Linked DNA regions of Homo sapiens: regions 2, 3 and 4 are each linked to region 1. Evidence: promoter capture Hi-C in 16 types of primary human blood cells and fetal thymus (Javierre and others, 2016). All regions are on one chromosome and are shown on one strand. The core of a region is centred on a gene start or on the middle of the fragment in contact, and the rest is flanking DNA. Distances in the headings are between cores, read along the strand shown. Region 1 holds the start of HAUS3 (HAUS augmin like complex subunit 3). Region 2 overlaps RNF4 (ring finger protein 4). Region 3 overlaps CFAP99 (cilia and flagella associated protein 99). Region 4 overlaps ZFYVE28 (zinc finger FYVE-type containing 28).

Region 1 (4,620 bases), core at 1,478-3,977:
CTAGTTGGCCAGTTGATTTTAGCACTTCTACGTAATTATTGGATTTCCTATATCATTCAAATGTTTTGTCAGCTATAGAAACTAACTTGGTGCTGATATTCTGATTCAGAAAAGTTACATTTTTACTCAAGTATCTAGCAGTTATATTACCAAGAAAACAAGCTCTCCAAGAGTGCAGACAGACATCTGCAATACATCTATCCATATATTCTCAAAAAGAAATCAGTTTCAGTCTACTGAACCTGGACCTCTGACTTCATTAGCACTATGCTCTGGTTGGAGCAAACGAGGCAGAATACCCATAATAAAGCAATTAGTTTCTAGCCACATCTTAAAAAGAAAATCTCAGTCCAGTCTGTATCTGCATTACACAAATTTAAAATTCGGAATGCAAATTAAAGCACTTTTGTTTAAAATAAATTAGATAATGTGGTAGAGATTATAATTACTATTGCTGCCCTCCATTAACGTATGGAACTATTTGTATGAAACATTGACACAGATCACAAATAAGCACTGAACAAAGAAAATAAAATGTAATCTCTTCTCAGATGCACCATTCTAAAGTACTTTAACAGCAATATTATCTCCTCTATTCCTAACAATAATTACAATGTGAATCCAATCTCATTTCTTATGCTTACCTTGCTGGTTAGGCTGTGAAGACTCTCCTCTGCCCATTTTATACTTGACTTCATGCTCGAATTACTTGCTTTTAAGTGAATTAACTGATGTTGAGCACAAATGTATGCGAGCTGCAGTCTAGCCATCTCTAGTCGTCTCTCCTCAAGGATTTCTTGATTATCACAAATAGATGGTGTCTGTATATCTAAAAGTTGAAAATTGTCTTCATTTGAACTTTCAACTACTTCATGTATACCCTGAAAGAACTGTTTTTTGGTATACAAAGTTAATGCTGCTGTGCTTTGCTCTTCCTGACTTAGGTATTTTTCCAAGGAAAATTGCGATAAAAATACCAGTGGATTTGTCCCTTGACCTAAATTAGAATGTCTGAAGAACATCATCAATTGTGTAACTTCATCAGTAAGAGCCTGAAGTTCATTACTGATCTTAGTGATCATTGCATTTAGAATTCCTTGACTCTGCTTCAGCTTTTTAGTGGCTTCTTCTTCTTTAGCATTTAACCTCAGAGATTTGTGGCTAGTTACTGAAGCCATCAATTGACATTTATTACGTCGCTGAATTTTTAGGTTCTTTAATTTCAGTAGAGTTTGAACCTCATCCTCTAATTTCTCCAGCTCTTTATCATCCAGTCTAGGTGTCTTCAAATCAGAAGTTTTACACGTTTTAAGAGCTTCATCCAATGCCGCCCCTTCTAGAATAGGCTTGCCTGATTTCTGAAGAATGCTAAAAGCTTCCAATTCTCTTTCAGACAACACGTTCTGTTCATTCACATTCCCACAAAACCACTTCAGAAACGATTCATCTTCAACGCCCTCAAACAACCAGTCAAAGTCTTCTCCATTAAGATTATCAGCTTTGGGATAACCAATTTTTTTTAATGTTTCCACAAACTCATTTCCACAACTCATGGTTTTAACTACCCCAATTTTGTTGTATCTGATATGGGTTTACGGTGTTGATTTTTAGAAAATAAATCCAAGCAGAAAAAAAGCTACGTTTTATACCAAGTCCACAGAGAAGGGAAAATATATTTTTAGAATCTATAATGATTCCTCCTAGGGGGGAAGAAAACAAGTATTAGACCACAAATATGACGACAGTGTTTTTAAAAAGAAGACACAGACAAATATCACATGATATCCGAGAGCGGGATAAATGACAGGTAGTCGTAGCTGCAATGTTTGATGATGATAAAGAGAAACAGAAACAATTAGGCTAGTTCTCAGAAAACCGCAACAGTAACGAAAAGTAATTAACAAGAAAGTGGATCTATTTGGATCCATTTTATCTTTTTTTCCAAAGATAAAATGGTTTAAAATGCATTACACTTTATAGAGCAGCATTTGTTTTTAATTCAAAATAAATGGATCCAAACAAACCCAAGCCACCAGGAGGCTAGGCAGCCTCTCTTCCCTGCCCTCCGTACGTAAGAAGACGCAAATAAGCATGGCACATCTTCTGAAGATCAACTAAATATTTACCTCAACGTCTCGCCGGGCAAGGCTCCACCTCCAGAGTCCACCACCGCGACGCGGAGAACAGCAGGAGCAGCAGGGAAGCGCGCGGCCACAATTAAGGGTGCTTCGGGCCGGCCTTCAGCCAGCGCTGAGGCAGCCCCGACGCCAGGGCCGCGCGAACCCCAGAGGCAGCGGCAAGCCCCAGGGATCCGCGGCCCCAAGGCCGCGATACACCAGACGCGCCAGCGGCAAAACCTTCCTTCGGAGGGTCACCCAGCTGTGACACCTAAGCACGCTGACAAAACAAACGCACAAGCCCACCGAATCGCCGTCGACACCGAGCTGCAGAAGACGGGGGTGACAGGCCCCGCACAGCCCCCGCCCCAGCTCCTCGCCCAGCGGACCGGGCCCTGATCCCCGGGCAGCTGCTGGAGCACCTGGAAGGAGCCCCCAGGAGCGCAGGAAAAAAAAGAGGCACCTGGGTGCAGACGGGGATCGCGGCCACTCCTCCAGCCCCACACCCCTGCGCCCAGAACCGAGGCCCGCGTCAGTCACCTCAGGAAGTTCCGCTTGCTTCTCGCAGGAGCCCGCCGCCACCGCCCTCCGTGCCCCGCGCGCCTCGCACTGCCTCACGGGAGCGCCTGGACGCGCGCAAGCGCACAAGGCGACGGCGTGGTCGTGGGGGATGACTGTTTGCGCAGGCGTAGTGTCAAAAGAGGCGGAGTCGGCGAGGCTGGACTATGGGGTGGAGCTGAGCAGGCGGCGCTCGGCCCCCGGCCGCTGCGGGCATCCTGCCTCCTGGGCGGGGCGCAGGGCAGAGAGAGGCGGGGTCTGGGCCGGGAAGGGCGGGGACAGGGCCTGGACAGGGGCGGGGCCTGGGCAGGGGGCGGAGCCTGGGCAATGAATGGGGTGCAGAGGGGTGCAGAGGGGTGCGGTGGGGCGCCCTCTGGGGAGCTGAAGCTGCGGGCCTGCTCTCAACGGAGCCGTCAGTTGTGCTTCAGGCCTGCCCTGCCCCGTACTTCAATCTAGACCCTCTGAAGGCACTTTTGAATGGTACAAAGAGCAGCGCAGGTTGGTGGTTGGGAGACAGGCTGGAGCCCGGCGGTGATAGCGCTCGCCCCCGAGAGAGACGAGTTCCCGGAACATTCACAGCAGCCCGACCAATGCCTGGTACATTTTAAGGGTTAGGGATTGTTCGCTTAGAGTCTTTTACAATGAACTTTATTTTGCAAAAACACTTAATTTCTAATCCCTCACCAGAACACTATGTAAAAGCTGACTTCTGGCCGGGCGCGGTGGCTCATGCCTGTAATCCCAGCACTTTGGGAGGCCGGGGGGGGGGGGGGGGGGGATCATGAGGTCAGGAGTTCGAGACCAGCCTGGCCAAGATGGTGAAACCCCATCTCTACTAAAAAATACAAAAATTAGCCGGGCGCGGTGGTGGGCGCCTGTAATCCCAGCGACTCGGGAGGCTGAGGCAGGAGAATCGTTTGAACCCAGGAGGTGGAGGTTGCAGTGAGCCGAGATCACGCCACTGCACTCTAGCCTGGGCGACAGAGCAAGACTCCGTCTCAAAAAAAAAAAAAAAAAAAAAGCTGACTTCCTCCACAATTCCCTTTTCAAAATGTTAGAAATAAACGGAATGGCCTGAGTTAAATACATCGATATATTTAACTCAAGGAGGATGGTACACCATTTCCAAAGAGGATGGCAGTCAGTGAAAGATGACTGAAACGGGATTGCTAAATTTCATGTGAATCTGGCTGATGCCCTACAGCCCAGTGAAACCAGACCTCTCTATTGGACAGAATTCGTTTGCATCTCTACCAAACAAAAATCCTTTGCCACTCCTCAGTCTTCCACAGGTTAGCAGGGGCTTTGGTCATGGGTAAATATAATAGTACTCCCTCCCTTCAGCGTCAAATGACCCTAAAGGTGGCTTGTTAGACAATGTCCTAGTCCAGGGTGACTAGGTAGAAGTCGTTTGGATAGTTTTTCTTAATATTTTTAAGGAGAGAAATAAGAATGTTCTAAGGCAAATATTGTAATCTGATCGAGTCAAAGATATTTCCTATTCATTCTTCACTTGTTTCACGTTTTTTTCCTCCTCTTTTAAAAGTCAATAAGGCCTAAAATGATCTGAAAAACAAACATGATGGGAAAAAATTCAAAGAGTGGTGCCCAATCTGCAGGCAAGGAAACCAGGGATGCTGGAACGGGGAGGCCTGGTGGGAGGACCCTTGCAGCCCAGGGTTGGAGGTTGGGGGTGTGCATCAGGGGGCAGAGTTGAGCCAGTTTGGACAGGAGGAAGTGGGAGCTGTGCAGGCAATGCCTTCCAGAAATGTTGCTGATGAGGCAAAGACTGGGTGGGAGGAGTGTGACACAGAGAGAGAGATACAGAGAGACAGAGAGAGACAGAAACAGAGAGACAGAGACAGAGAGACAGAGACAGAGACAGAGAGACACAGAGAGACAGAGACAGAGAGACAGAGACACAGAGACAGAGACAGAGAGACAG
Region 2 (4,620 bases), core at 1,330-3,829, 250 kb after region 1:
TTAGGAATACCTAGCATCCGGCTCTCCTGACCATCCCCAGTTAGGAATGACCACTTCTCTACCCCAGCTCCTCTTTTCTCAGTGGCAGGGGCGCCATCAACACCCCACTCTTACCCTCATTTATTCCTTCAATAAATATGAGCATCTGCTTTGTGTAAGGTCTTAGCTAGGTAGAAAGTAAATAGAGCCTTGTCCTCGTAGCGCTTACCTAAGTGAGAGCATACTGGACGAGAGACTGGAGGATGGTGGGGCCCTTTCTTGAAATGGAGTATATGTTGGCGGAAGGAGGAGGCAAGGGTTCCTTTTGGAACACACTAAATTTGAGAAATCTGAAAAATCACCGTCAGTGTTCCCGCTAGTTTCTGGAATTGATGTATTTGATTCTGGCACTAACATACCTATTTGAGGGTGTGGGTCTTGGTATCAGACTGCCCTGGTTTAAGTCTAGGCTCTGTTTACTAGGTGTGGATGACTTTGGGGAAGTTCCTTAACTTTAATCCTTAGCTGCTTCATGGGTAAAATGGGGAACATAACAGTGCTTATTTCCTTACTGGGTGATGTGAGGAGCACATGTGGTGATATTAATATTTAGGAAGCGCAGTGCCTTGTGCAGATGCAGAGAAGGCACCTCTCAGCTGTTGTTAGTTTTCTTATTCCATTGGACTCTCACCTGCATGATCCAGAACCCTTTGTAGTTGGTGAGGGCTACTTTCCCATGACCGCTAAGGTCTCCATTCACTCTGCATTTCTACGTCCCCACCACGCTGGGATGCTCTGCTGGAAATGCTCCTGTCTCACCTCAGTGCCCTGGTGAAATCCAGCCTCTTGGTGGCTTATCCCCAAGACCAGCCTTCCAAATTCCTTTGAACTCTGACTCCTGACCCTTACTAAACCCAAAAGAGAGAGAAAAACCAGATTTGGGGTGAATTGCTGTATGGGCCAGGGCATGGAGAATGAGGGGGCTCCAGAAAGCTTCCCAGGGAAGTAGTAATGGTCTAGCTGGGCCTGCAGGGATGCAGGAGGCTGGTTTCAGAGTGGTGAGGGGTGTGCAGGCCAGGACAGCCACAAGGCACATCTTCAGCAGCCGTATTTGGAAGCCTCAATATCAGTGAAGTGGGAGGAGAGAGGCTTAGGAACAGCCTGGGTGTGGACATCAGGTGTTTCCCTTTGCTCTGCAGGCTGATTTCTCTGTCTTCCTTTGTCAGTAGCTTCTCTTTTCTAAATTCTAAGACACGCTATTGATGTGGCGGGGAGAACAAGCCCCTATATGATAGATGTGCACCCAAATGTAAGATATTTCTTGAGATCAGAAACATTCGTGGATATGAGAACCCAGGACATGTGGTGGATCTGGGACTGTCGTGTGGTCTGAATGATCTTGTGAGTCCTAAGGTGATGTCGAGGCACCTCCCACCTCTGTTGAAACCAACTAGACAAGTCTTTTCCTAGCCAGAGCCTCTTCCCTGAATGTCTGTTTAAAGTTGAACACTTACCAGGTGAGGTGTTGCTTTGAGAAGCATTTGTGCTCCGGGCTGGAGTGCAATGGTGCAGTCATGGCTCACTGCAGTCTTGACCTCCTGGGCTCAGGTGATCCTCCTGTCTCAGCCCCTGGAGTAGCTGGGACTACAAGTGTGCACCGTCACATCTGGCTATTTTTTTAATGTGTTTTTATTTTTATTTTTTGAGACAGAGTCTCTCTCTGTTGGCCAGGCTGGAGTGCAGTGGTGCCATCTTGGCTCATTGCAACCTCCGCCTCCCGGGTTCAAGTGATTCTTGTGCCTTAGCCTCCTACGTAGCTGGGATTATAGGCGCACACCACCACACCCGGCTAATTTTTATATTTTTAGTAGAGACGGGGTTTCGCCATGTTGGCCAAGCTGGTCTTGAACTCCTGATCTCAAGTGATCTGCCTGCCTCAGCCTCCCAGAGTGCTGGGATTACAGGCATGAGCCACTGCCCAGCCTCATTATTTTAATTTTTTTATAGAGACAGGATCTCACCATGTTAACCAAGCTAGTTTCCAATTCCTGGGCTCAAGAGATCCTCCCTCTTCAACTTCCCAAAGTGCTGGGGTTATAGGGCATGAGCCACTGTGCCTGCCCCATTTGTGCATTCTGTTGAGAGCACCCGTAGTCCCATAGTATGGGCCAGCCTAAGGAGATGCAAGTCACCCTTTATTAGAGTGAAACAGTGAAGGGGATTTCCCCTCTAAACCATTGAGGTCAAGCTAGAGAATGAGGCGCTCAGGGAGTGAGATACAGTATGCCATTTTCTCAGAACCAGACGACCAAGTGCTGAAGAAAATGCTCAGCTCAGCTGGGACGGCGGTCCCTTTGGGCATCTCCTGAAAAACCTACTCTGGCCTCCCTTTCTCCTCCTGTACTTCTTGCACACTTAGTTCCTAACTTCGTTATAGCTGCCTGCCAGCACCCTCCTCACCCTTCTCCCCGCCCTAGATTCTGCACAGAGGCTGTGTTTGCTCATTGCTGTATTCCCAGGGCAGGGGCTGTACTGTGAATGAGGCGGGGAGGTATGCATCCTTTCTTAAAGCTGGGTGGGAGGACAGACGTGGTGGCTCATGCCTGTAATCCCAGCACTTTGGGAAGCCGAGGCAAGTGGATCACCTGAGGTCAGAAGTTCGAGACCAGCCTGGCCAACCTGGTGGAAACCCCATCTCTACTAAAAGTAGAAAAATTAGCCTGGTGTGGTGGCACATGCCTGTAGTCCCAGCTACTGGGAGGCTGAGGCAGGAGAATCACTTGAACCTGGGAGGTGGAGGTTGCAGTGAGCCCACTGCACTCCAGTCTGGGCAACAGAGTGAGACTCCGTCTCAAAAACAACAACAACAACAACAAAAAAAAACTGAGTGGGATGTGATATCACACAGCATTTTAGGGCTTGAGCAGAAGGTTGGAGCTGGTCACTGGGAAGGTTTATTTGGAGAGACTGCCAACCTGGTGCTGTGGGGCTGAGTGTGGTGATGGGTATGTGTCAGCCCACAGACACTGAGCCTTTCCAGTGTGCCTGCACTGTTCCAAACACTCTCTTGTAATAACTTCTGGAATCCTCACACACCATTAAGGTAGGTGCAGTTCTGTTCTATAGATAAGGAAATGGGGCACAGAGAAGTTCAATGCCATGCCCCAAGGTCACAGGTTGGGGTTTGCAGGTGCCTGGATTTTATTTTCATTTTTTATTTATTTATTTATTTTTTTGAGATGGAGTTTTGCTCTCGTTGTCCAGGGTGGAGTGTAATGGCATGATCTCGGCTCCTCTGCCTCCCAGGTTCAAGAGATTCTCCTGCCTCAGCCTCCCAAGTAGCTGGAATTACAGGCATCCACCACCACTCCAGGCTAATTTTTTGTATTTTCTAGTAGAGACGGGGTTTCACCATATTGGCCAGGCTAGTCTCAAACTCCTGACCTCAGGTGATCCACCCGCCTTGGCCTCCCAGAGTGCTGGGATTACAGGTGTGAGCTACTACACCCGGCCGATGCCTGGATTTCAATCTCAGTTGCCTGGCTCAAGAGATGTGCCCTAATTGCAGTGCCAGCCTGGCTCCACACACCATGCTTAGGAGTTAGGCCTTGATAAGGAGCCAGGGAAAGTTGCTGCGGCAAATGTTTCGGAAAGATGGCCTGGCAGTAGGGTAGACGGGCACCCAGGGACAGGAGACCCAGCATGAGCAGGCATGGTAATGGTGCACAGGAGGATGACACGGCACAGCACTGGGGATGCACAGAAGGGTGGATGTGAGAGCGTTCCTGTCGTTTCCGCCACCTGGATCCCTCTCACCTGTGTCTGTTTTGCAACTCCATCTCGTTATGCTACTTCAGTACGTTCCATGGTGTGGTCTCTGGAAGCAGCACCTGGGAACTTGTTAGATACGTAAATTGGAGGGCCTAGCAGGCTGTGCTTAACGAGCCCTCTGTGGGGGAGCCTGATACAGGCTCATGCTTGAGAAGCACTCTCCTAATCTAAGCCACTAGCACCCAGCAGTGGGTGGCCACAAGGGTCTTGTCCTTGCTTTGGCTCTCTCTCAACCCTCAGGCTTGCCTGTGCTCAGGGCTTTGTGGCTCCATTAACCATGCGTCGCTGACGCTGAGTTTACCGTGGTCGGCCTCGCTTCTCAGTGAAGTCCAAGGGCCTCGCAGCCTCTGCATCTGGTGATTTCTCTGCCTTTCCTCAAAGCTTCTGCTTGGCTGCCTAGTCCACAGCCTCCCGATTCACCATTCACCTGGTCCCAGCAACAGAAGTCTCAGCTGGACACACAACATGCTTTAGAGTGAGTGGCTCTTGTCTTCTCAACTCCGGACGGCGACAGTGAAATTGTGGGAAGAACCTGAGGCTCTGAGCTGTGGCCTCAGAAGCTCTGTCCCTTCCCTTCTGGTTCCTGAGGAGTTGGTGTGGTCATGTGTGGCAGTCCTGACTCGCACCTCCTCCCAGCAGTTAGCACGGTACCTTGCCAAGGTGGCAGGAGCCAGGAAGAAGAGTAGGAGGTGGCATAATAATTACAATTGCAGGCTTTGGGATCAGGAAGTCCTACATGCGACAAGAATGCTTACTTCCTAAGATGAATATAGGATTAAGGATGTCATTGCGTGAAATAGTAAGCAAATA
Region 3 (4,620 bases), core at 942-3,441, 210 kb after region 1:
GCTGGGCCAGCATCCACCTGGTATGTGTTTGGGGGCACCCAGCAGGCACAGGTGCCAGGCGGCCAGCTCTGCCCTGACTCCTGCAGGGCTCCAAGCAGCAGCTGCGGCTTCAGTTCCCACCCCGAATCCGAAAGACTCCGAAGCTGACCTTCTATAGGGTGAGGGGTGCTCCTGGATGGTCAGGCTGCTCTCCCTGGGCACCCACCCCTCCAGACCTTTTCTGCCCGTAGAGGCTCAGATGACCTGAGCTGGGGGACCTAGAGTCCCAAGGACGGCCCCACCCTGGGGGATAGGGAAGCACCTGGGCAGGGGGCAGGTGTGACGGGCATGAGGGCAGGATGGGCATTTGCTGCTCCCAAGGGTCTCCTCAAGCCCCCACCACAGCCAGTCCCCAATCCCGCAGCCTGACAACATCCTGGTCAAGCTGAACACCACAGCCATCCTGCGAGAAGGGGCCTTGTACCAGCGGCAGGTGGAGCAGGAGCTGCAGAGGTGAAGGGCGGCAGGCCCCCCCACCTGCCTTCCACGGCATCACCCTTGAGAGGAAAGGCTCAGAGGAGGGGCCTGGGGGCTGGGCAGCTCAGTGGAGAGGGACTCGGGGGTCACAACAGGCTGTGGTCCTGCAGCAACAGGGGCGACAAGCAGGACTGTGTCAGGGTCCCAGGTGCATCTTACAAAGATCATGCCGGCTCAGTGAGGGGCATGAATGGGGCTGGAGGGACTTAGCAAAGGCCCAACCCACACCAAACCTCCCTTGGGGTTACCTCCTCCCTGGACCCCTTCCTGATGCCCCCATCTCCTAGACCACCAGGGCTGCAAACCCCTGTGCTTACCCCATGCGGTGTGGTCGTGTCTTTCCTTGTCTGCAAGTCAGGCTGTGGGGGGAGCATGGGTGTCTGACCAGATGGTGGAGTGGACGCACAGATGGTGCACAGGGGCAAGGGTGGCCAGGCTAGCAGAGGACAGAAGGTTGATGGATGGACAGATGATGGACACAGGGTTGGTGGATGGACAGACAGTTGGACAGAGTGAGGGTAGACAAACAAGTGGATGAAGGGAGGGGTGGGTGGATGGGGCTGATGGGTGGACGCACAGAAAGGGGGACCAGGGGATGGGTGGACAGTGGGTCGGGGATAGGAGGAAGGGCAGGCCACGCAGCTGGGTGTCAGGAGTAGCAGCCCACGCCTGCGCAGCCACTGTCCCTCAGGAAAACCTGTGACCACCCAGCAGCCTCTGTCACGGGAGAAACCCCAAGCTGTGCTTCTGTCCCTCTTTGCCCAGGGTTGATAAGCTCGTGGATGGGGCTGGGGACTTCTCTGAGTTCTTCGAGTGGCAGAAGAAGATGCAGGCGAAGGACCGGGAGGAGCAGCTGGCTGCAAGCGAGTGCCGGCGGTTGCAAGGGAAGCTTAGCCATGAGGAGGCCGTCCTAGCCCGGCAGAGCCTCATGCAGGAGAACAAGCAGAGGGTGGAGCAGCAGAAGGAGCAGGTGGGTGCCATGCAGGGCAGCTGGGCATGGGGCAGCCAGCTGAACTGTGTGCCCACCGGGAGCTGCAGGGCCAGGGCTGGCAGTGGAGCTGAGTGTCCACAGCGCCCCCGTAGAAGCTACTGATGTGTTGGTCCTGGCTCCTCTTCCTCCTCGAAGGACACACTGCCTAGGTGGGCACGCTCAGCCTGTGTTCCCCGAGAGTGCCTGCTCCTTCCAGTGGGCCTCACAGTGGCCTGGACCAGCGGGGAGCCTCAGCCCCAGGAGGCCGGCCTGTATACTCTCTCCTGGGACGTATCCCTTTGCAGGCCTGCGGTCAGGGACTTGATCAAAGGTCACTCAGATTGCTTCTTTTGATAGTTTCATCTGTGTCTGTATTCAATTTTAAGGTTTGCCTTTTCTTTCCTTTTTACTTTTTTAAAAAAATATGAAGGCCAGGCCAGGCATGGTGGCTCACACCTATAATCCCAGCACTTTAGGAGGCCAAGGCCAGAAGATCACTTGAGCCTAGGAGTTCAAGATCAGCCTGAGCAACATAGCAAAATCCCGTCTCTGTAAAAAATACAAAAATTAGCCGGGCATGGTGGTGCGTGCCCGTAGTGCCACCTACTCGGGAGGCTGAGGTAGGAGGATCACGTGAGCCTGGAAGGTCAAGGTTGCAGTGAGCCGTGATCATGCCACTGCACTCCATCCTGGGCGACAGAGCGTAACTGTCTCAAAAACAAAACAAACAAACAAAAATGAAGTCTAAACAATATGAAAAGGTAGACTCAGAGAAGTCTCACCTCTTGTAAGTCTATAACTTACAACCCATTTCCACCTTCCTTTGTTGGTCCTTCCTTTCATTAATTTCTGGATTACCTTTCCCGTCTTTCGAAGCAAATAACACACTTGTATATACATAGTTTGTCCTTCCCTTTTTTGTTACATAAAAGGTCACACCTTGCTTTATCTGCAAAGAATAATGTGCAAGACTTTCACCTTTGCAGAGCTGGATTTTCAGGGTAAACTTCTAGAGGAAGTTATATTTCCAGATGTCACACCAAAGAGTAACTGGATACGCAGGAGTCCTTGCCGTTTGGGACGCGTGGTTTTACTAAATATGGCCAATCGTCTCCCTGGTACTTTTACCATCTTCACTCCACCAAAGTGTGAGAGGGGTCTGATCCGCATGCCCCGCCACAGAGTGTACCAGGCTGAATTCGTGAATTTGTGCCAATTTCATGGGTCAGAAATAGTATCTTGGTATAGTTCTGATTTGCATCTCATTTATTTATCAGTGAATTTGAGCAAATGTCCACATATACATATATAAATGATTTGTGTCTATTTCTGTGAACCGTCTGTCCATGTCTTTTGTCCATTTTCTATTGCACTTTTGACCTTCATTTCCCTGACTTTTTTTTTTTTTTTGGTTCTTTATTTATTTAACTTGACAAATGCAATTGAATATATTTGTGATATATAACATGATTTTTTTTTTTTTTTAAGATGGAAGCTTGCTCTGTCGCCCAGGCTGGAGTGCGGTGGTGTGATCTCAGCTCACTGCAACTTCCGCCTCCCGGGTTCAAGTGATTCTCCTGCCTCAGTCTCCTGAGTAGCTGGGACTACAGGCGAGCACCACCATGCATGGCTAATTTTTGTTTTTTGGTTTTTGGTTTTTTTTTCTTTTTGAGACAGAGTCTTGCTCTGTCGCCCGGGCTGGAGTGCAGTGGCATGATCATGGCTCACTGCAACCTCCACCTCCTGGGTTTAAGAAATTCTCTGCCTCAGCCTCCTGAATAGCTGGTATTATAGGCGCATGCCACAATGCCCAGCTATTTCTTTTTTTGTATTTGTAGTAGAGATGAGGTTTCACCATCTTGGTCAAGCTGGTCTTGAACTCCTGGCCTCGTGATCCACCCACCTCGGCCTCCCAAATTGCTGGGATTACAGGCATGAGCCACCGTGCCCGGCCTACTTTTTGTATTTTTAGTAGAGATGGGTTTTCACTGTGTTGGCCAGGCTGGTCTCAAACTCCTGACCTCAAGTGATCCACCTGTCTCAGCCTCCCAAAGTGCTGGGATTACAGGTGGAAGCCACCACGCCCGGCCTAACATGATCTTTTGGAATACAAATACATTGTGGAATGGCTAAATCAAGCTAATTAACATATGCATTATCTCACATACTTATTCCTGGTAAGAACACTTACAATCTACTCTCTTAGCAATTTTTCTTTTTTTGTTGTTTTTTTTCTTTTTTTTTTTTGTTTTTTTTTTTTTTTGGTTTTTGTTTTGTTTTTGTTTTTGTTTTTGAGACAGAGTCTCACTCTGTCACCCAGGCTGGAGTGCAGTGGGTTGATCTCAGCTCAGTGCAACCTCTGCCTCCCAGGGTCAGGCGGTTATCCTGCCTCAGCCTCCTGCGTAGCCGGGACCACAGATGCACACCACCATGTCTGGATAATTTTTGTATTTTTAGTAGAGACAAGGTTTCACCATGTTGGCCAGGCTGGTCTCAAACTCCTGACCTCAAGTGATCTGCCCACTTCAGCCTCCCAAAGTGCTGGGATTACAGGTGTGAGCCACCATGCCCGGCCACAGTTTTTCTTTTTTGAGACAGGGTCTCACTCTGTCGCCCAGGCTGGAGCGCAGTGGCATGATCTTGGCTCACTGCAACCTCTGCCTCTCAGGCTCAAACCATCCTCCCATCTCAGCCTCCCAAGCAGGTGAAACTGCAGGCGTGCACCACCTTTTTAGGAGAGACACAGTTTCGCCATGTTGCCCAGGCTGGTCTCTAACTCCGGGGCTCAAGTGATTCACCTGCCTCAGTCTCCCAAAATACTGGGATTACGGAAATGCGCCTCTGCGCCCAGCCTAATGTTCTTTATATGTTAGGAAAAATAATCCTTTATAATAGATTGTTGCAGATTGCTTTTTTTCCAGTTTGTCATTTGACTTTGTATATGAGGTTTATGATGGGTGTTTGCCATGCAAATATTCTTTTTATGTCTTCAAATTTAACAGTCTTTTCTTGTGTTGTGTTTGGAGTTAGAAAATGCCACTCTTGGCTGGGTGTGGTGGCTCACGCCTGTAATCTCAGCACTTTGGGAGGCCAAAGCAGGGCGATCACCTGAGGTCAGGCATTCAAGACCAGCC
Region 4 (4,620 bases), core at 583-3,082, 130 kb after region 1:
CTTCGCCAACACTTGTTATTATCTGACTTTTGAGTTCTAACCACCCTGGTGGCTGTGAAGTGGCCGCTCACTGTGGTTTTGACTCTCATTTTCCCAATGGCTGATGACACTGGGCACCCTTCATTGCTGGCTGACCACCTGCACATCTTCTCTGGAGACCATACACTAAGGGCAGGTGGTGCTTAGAGGGGCATCCCTGCCATCCTTCCTCCTGGTGACATCTGTGAGTCAAGGGTGTGGAACGCCGCACTCTGTGGACTGACCAGATCTGCTTTCTCACATCAGAGCAATCTAGGCCAGGCTGTTCCATCTGGTGAGACAAGGGTCCCCCCTGCCACAGCCACAGGACCCCACCAAAGCCATGGGCAAGTGTGGACTGGGCAATGTGGCACCTTTGTTGTGATTAGGACCTAATTTGCCATAAAGAGAGGCCCTTGAGTAAGGAAAAGGTGCCCCCAGAGCCTACTCTGGGACCTCAGACATGGTTCCTACCCACCCACAGTGGGTCAAATGGTGGTCCCCTTGAAGCATGTCTGGAATGTGTGAATATGACTGTTTTTGGAAAAACGGTTGTTGCAGATGAAAGAGAGGTAAGAATCTCAACCTGAGACCATCCTGGACTCTCTGGGTGGGCCCTAAACCCAGTGACAGGTGGCCTTAGAGAAGGTGAAAGGCACACAGAGGAGAATGCCATGTGAAGATGGGGCGGAGATCGGTGTGACGGGCCTGTAAGAAACCCCAAGGACAGCCGGCAACACCGGGAGCTGGAGAAGGCAAGGAGCGACCCTCCCTCAGAGCCCCCAAAAGAAACCAGTGCTGCCCACACCACGACCTCAGACTTCTGGTCTCCAGAACTTTGAAAGAAGGGATTTTTTTTTTTCTTTTCTTTTTTTTTTTTTTTTTTTGAGACAGAGTCTCGCTCTGTCACCAGGCTGGAGTGCAGTGGCGTGATCTCGGCTCACTGCAACCTCCGCCTCCCGGGTTCAAGCAATTCTCCTGCCTCAGCCTCCCGAGCAGGTGGGATTACAGGAGTGCATCACCAAGCTCGACTAATTTTTGTACTCTTAATAGAGACGGGTTTCACCATGTTGGCCAGGATGGTCTTGATCTCCTGATCTCGTGATCCGCCCGCCTTAGCCTTCCGAAGTGCTGGGATTACAGGTGTGAACCAACACGCCCGGCCGATTTTTGTTGTTTTAAGCACCCCACTGTGTGCGACTTGGTCACAGCAGCCATACAGAATGAAGATGCCCCTCTCCCACAGCACCACGATTACCTGATGTCCCACAGCGGAGAGAAGGGGATTTGCCTGGTCCTGTGTCATCAGGGGCACTGAGAAACCCCATGTCAGTGCGTTTATCCTATGGATCGGCCCTGACCATCACTCGGCCTGAGCCCCCTGGACACACCTGGAGTCAGCAGAGCTGGCCGAGCTGCCCAGCCCATGGATGGGGTGCCCTGGGCCCACACCCCAGCTCACACTTGGGGGTAGGGATTCCCTAAGTGCCCCCAGTGCCTCTAAGAATAGCCATCACCCCACATTCTGGGAGATCTCTTTCGACAAATCTTCCCCCCGTGCAGGTGGGACACCGGCAGGACAGAGGTAGCCCTGGACCCAATCCTGCCGGCCCAGGGCCCAGAGCCCACCAGTGAGATGCAGAGATGGGGCCAGAGGGAGCACCCACCATCCTGGGCATCACTGTACCGGGAGAGGGGTGTCTCCCATGCCTGCTGCCACCCCCACCTCTCGGCTCCCCGGACGTGGCAAGGCCATGGGACCACCTGCAGTGGGCCAGTCTGGGGCGCCAGATTGCACACCACATCCCTCGCCGGCCACCCCTCCTGCCCACACTGTGATGCTGGGCGCCTCTCTGACTGCCCTCAGGAGGGATGGGCACCCAACCCTGCCACGTCCATGTGGGTCACGTGTGTCTCGGATCTTCCTGTGTAATGCAGCATTCCAGGTGCTTCCACTGAGAAGACACGGTGCCCACTGTCCACCACGAAGACCCCCAGGGAAGAGGACCCAGGCCTGGGGTGAACGTGGACGCAGCATGTGGGGCGCAGCCCGAGTCTGGCTCTTCTTCTTGACCAGTTGTTAGGTTTCGGGCCCCGCTCCTTAGGAGAAGTTGCAGGTGGGCGACTTGGAGCTGGAGAGAAGATGGGGAGCTCACGTGGGGGCTGAGTGGGGAAGCAAGCAGACAGGGGATGGGGTGACCACAGGAAAGGGCAAAGCCGCCTGGACACATGGACTCAGCCAGCACCTGGCGGGGCTGATTTGTGTGGTTGCCCGCGTCGTGCTCCCTGGCACATTCTTCTTTTGTACTGTGGTTATTGCTGAAATAATCAAATAATGCAAATACAACTTAGAAGCATTTGACTTATAAAGGTGCCCGCCACTAACAGATGATTAAGACGATTCCATCATTCTTTAAAAATAGCTGTCCTAAAGGAACGCCTGCTCTCACCAATGTGTCATTTTATCAGAGGATAAAAATTATTTGCAAAATAGTCCAGTGAGAGCCTGTACTTTATTTTTATGCATTATGAGAGGAAAAATATTGACGATGTTCCAGAGGCTTGACATATGGCAGGAAAAAGCCAAACGGGTATTCACTCAAGAAAAGCCAGGATAGTATCTGCAGAAAAGTAACTCAGGCACAGGGGCTCCCGGCAGGGCAAAAAACAGACAAACAAACAAACAAAAAACAGAAAACAAAAGAGTACAAAGACTCCCTTCAACAATAGCAGGCAAATAATTAAACCTCTTCAGTGTCTTTAAGGGCTAAAGCCAAACTGGAAAAGACACAGTCTGGCCACTAAGGCTGGCCTGGGAAGGCCACGCTGCGGGTTCAGTCCTAACCCAGCAAACAGCTGGCAGCCCGCCCCCCACCCAGCGTGAGAAGCCGGCCTCGGCGGCAACAGGATGAAGGTTGGGCTCCAGGGCCGTGAGCTGATGGCCGTGTGTCCCCAGGATCCAGGGCTGGACAGCCACACAGGAGCAGCCTAGAGGCACAGACCCCAACTATGACAGTGATGGAGCTGGGGGCTGGCAGGGGTGCAAGGCCATGCACGAGCCTCAGGTCAGCCCAGTGGAAGCCTGGAGGGGCGTGCAGCGTGTGGCCGGTTCTGGTGCGCATGGCCCATGTGGACATCTGTCAGAACTGGGGAGCGGGGAGGAGGGCAAATGTTTTGTTTGCTGTTACCTATTCCCGTGACCAACAGGACCCAAAGGACCTTCCAGAGAACCAGAGGTTTCCATCCTAGAAGGATGGTGGCGGGGCTGAGTCTGGTTCCGAGAAGGACTCGTGAGGGGGTAGGAATGGTCCCACCACCCTCACAGGAACACAGAGGCGTGTCTTCACAGCCCTACGCTGCCTCCCCAGCCCTTCCATCGCCGCCTCCTGCCACCACCGCTCCCGCCATCCTCCTTCTAGTCCTCAGCATGCCCAGCAGGTTCCAGTGCTGGGTCTTTGGCCTCAAGGTTCACCCAACACCTGACTCACCCGATTCGGGTCTCTGCCTGGACGTCACCATCATCGAGGCCTCCTAGCCCCTCCAGCACGGCACCATGCCCTATCACCCCATCATGTGGGAGGGGTACACAGAGGTGCGGGCAGGCAGGGGTGCTGGGGTTCTGAACAGGGCCTGGATTCTGGGAAGGGACCTGATGAGGGAGGGCCTGCGGCTGGGCACGGGTGGGCACTGGCTGTCACTCCCTCCGCAGAGGCAGGGGCAGGCACTCCAGGGCTTCGCTGATTGTGTCAGTTAAACTCCGAGGGTTGGGGCTCATGATGGCAGAGCCAGCTGCCTCCCTGGACCAAGGATGCTGCACACCCCTAAGACCTAGCCTCCCCGAGGCCTCTCCCCATGGCTGACTCACTGCAGCCTGGACCCAGTCCCTACCCAGGGGCCCTCCTAGCACCCCCAGCCTCTCTGCCAGCCAACCTTGGACGACTAGGGAGGGAAAAACCACCGCATGCCCACCAGAAGACCACCACGTCTCTGGGCAGACACTCGGGGTACCCTTACCCTATGCCTGAGCCAGCCTCTACCCCCACAGCCACCCCCACCACAGGGACAGAAGGCTCAAGAATGCAGTGGCAGACAGACAGCATTCACCAGTCACCCAAAGTTGAATGAGATGATCCACTTCAGCTATGCTCAGACCTTCTTAGAGAGTGACCATGTCTGATAGGGCCTGTGAAATACAAAATGACTTTTAAATAATTTTTTATTATAAAAAGTATGAGCTGGGTGCTGTGGCTCGTGCCTGTAATCCCAGCACCTTGAGAGGCTGAGGTGGGAGAATTGCTCAAGCCCAGGAGTTCAAGACCAGCCTGGGCAACATAGTGAGACCTACATCTCTACAAAAAATTTAAAAATTAGCTGACTGTGGTGGCATGCACCTGTAGTCCCAGCTACTCGGGAGGCTGAAGTGGGAAGACTGCTTGAGCCCCAGAGGTTAAGGCAACATTGAGCCATGATCACGCCACTGCCACTGCACTCCAGCCTGGGCAACAGTGTGAGACCCTGTCTCAAAAAAATAATTTTAAGTATGGAAGTTCTGAAAAATGTAAAAGAAAAACAGTGTTTCCTGGAGCTGAAACACTGTCAACA

The links. Contacts are between HindIII fragments. The CHiCAGO score rates a contact against its expected background, and 5 or more counts as called.
Region 2: a contact is called between a fragment that was not itself captured here and the fragment with the promoter of HAUS3 in region 1, in 3 of 17 cell types (naive CD8 T cells, total CD8 T cells and naive CD4 T cells). The highest score is 6.6, in naive CD8 T cells.
Region 3: a fragment that was not itself captured here is called in contact with the fragment with the promoter of HAUS3 in region 1 in 7 of 17 cell types (endothelial precursors, naive CD4 T cells, M2 macrophages and 4 more); the score reaches 8.0 in endothelial precursors.
Region 4: a contact is called between a fragment that was not itself captured here and the fragment with the promoter of HAUS3 in region 1, in 1 of 17 cell types (naive CD8 T cells). The highest score is 5.2, in naive CD8 T cells.

The regions. Positions count from the first base shown.
Region 1 is chr4:2,239,394-2,244,013 of GRCh38, forward strand. HAUS3 (HAUS augmin like complex subunit 3) reads right to left here and starts at 2,728. Exons shown (of 6, transcript NM_001303143.2): 1 at 2,658-2,728; 2 at 2,127-2,397; 3 at 645-1,700. The coding sequence starts at 1,553. POLN (DNA polymerase nu) reads right to left here and starts at 2,728. Exons shown (of 26, transcript NM_181808.4): 1 at 2,658-2,728; 2 at 2,127-2,397. It also overlaps the pseudogene COX6B1P5. RefSeq lists enhancers at 1,911-2,412, 2,019-2,118 and a silencer at 2,799-3,158. The HindIII fragment of the contact is 3,838 bases long and covers 1,374-4,620 here.
Region 2 is chr4:2,485,621-2,490,240 of GRCh38, forward strand. The region is part of intron 1 of RNF4 (ring finger protein 4); the gene reads left to right. Among named protein-coding and RNA genes, the nearest start is that of RNF4, 19 kb to the left of the region's middle. RefSeq lists enhancers at 448-949, 2,453-2,562, 3,914-4,620. The HindIII fragment of the contact is 3,219 bases long and covers 971-4,189 here.
Region 3 is chr4:2,450,861-2,455,480 of GRCh38, forward strand. It overlaps CFAP99 (cilia and flagella associated protein 99), which reads left to right. Exons shown (of 16, transcript NM_001193282.4): 9 at 87-158; 10 at 404-492; 11 at 1,282-1,486. Among named protein-coding and RNA genes, the nearest start is that of RNF4, 16 kb to the right of the region's middle. The HindIII fragment of the contact is 1,576 bases long and covers 1,404-2,979 here.
Region 4 is chr4:2,368,965-2,373,584 of GRCh38, forward strand. All of the region lies in intron 1 of ZFYVE28 (zinc finger FYVE-type containing 28), which reads right to left. LOC107986249 (a long non-coding RNA gene) reads right to left here. Exons shown (of 2, transcript XR_001741550.2): 2 at 1-4,201. Among named protein-coding and RNA genes, the nearest start is that of ZFYVE28, 47 kb to the right of the region's middle. The HindIII fragment of the contact is 8,792 bases long and covers 1-4,620 here.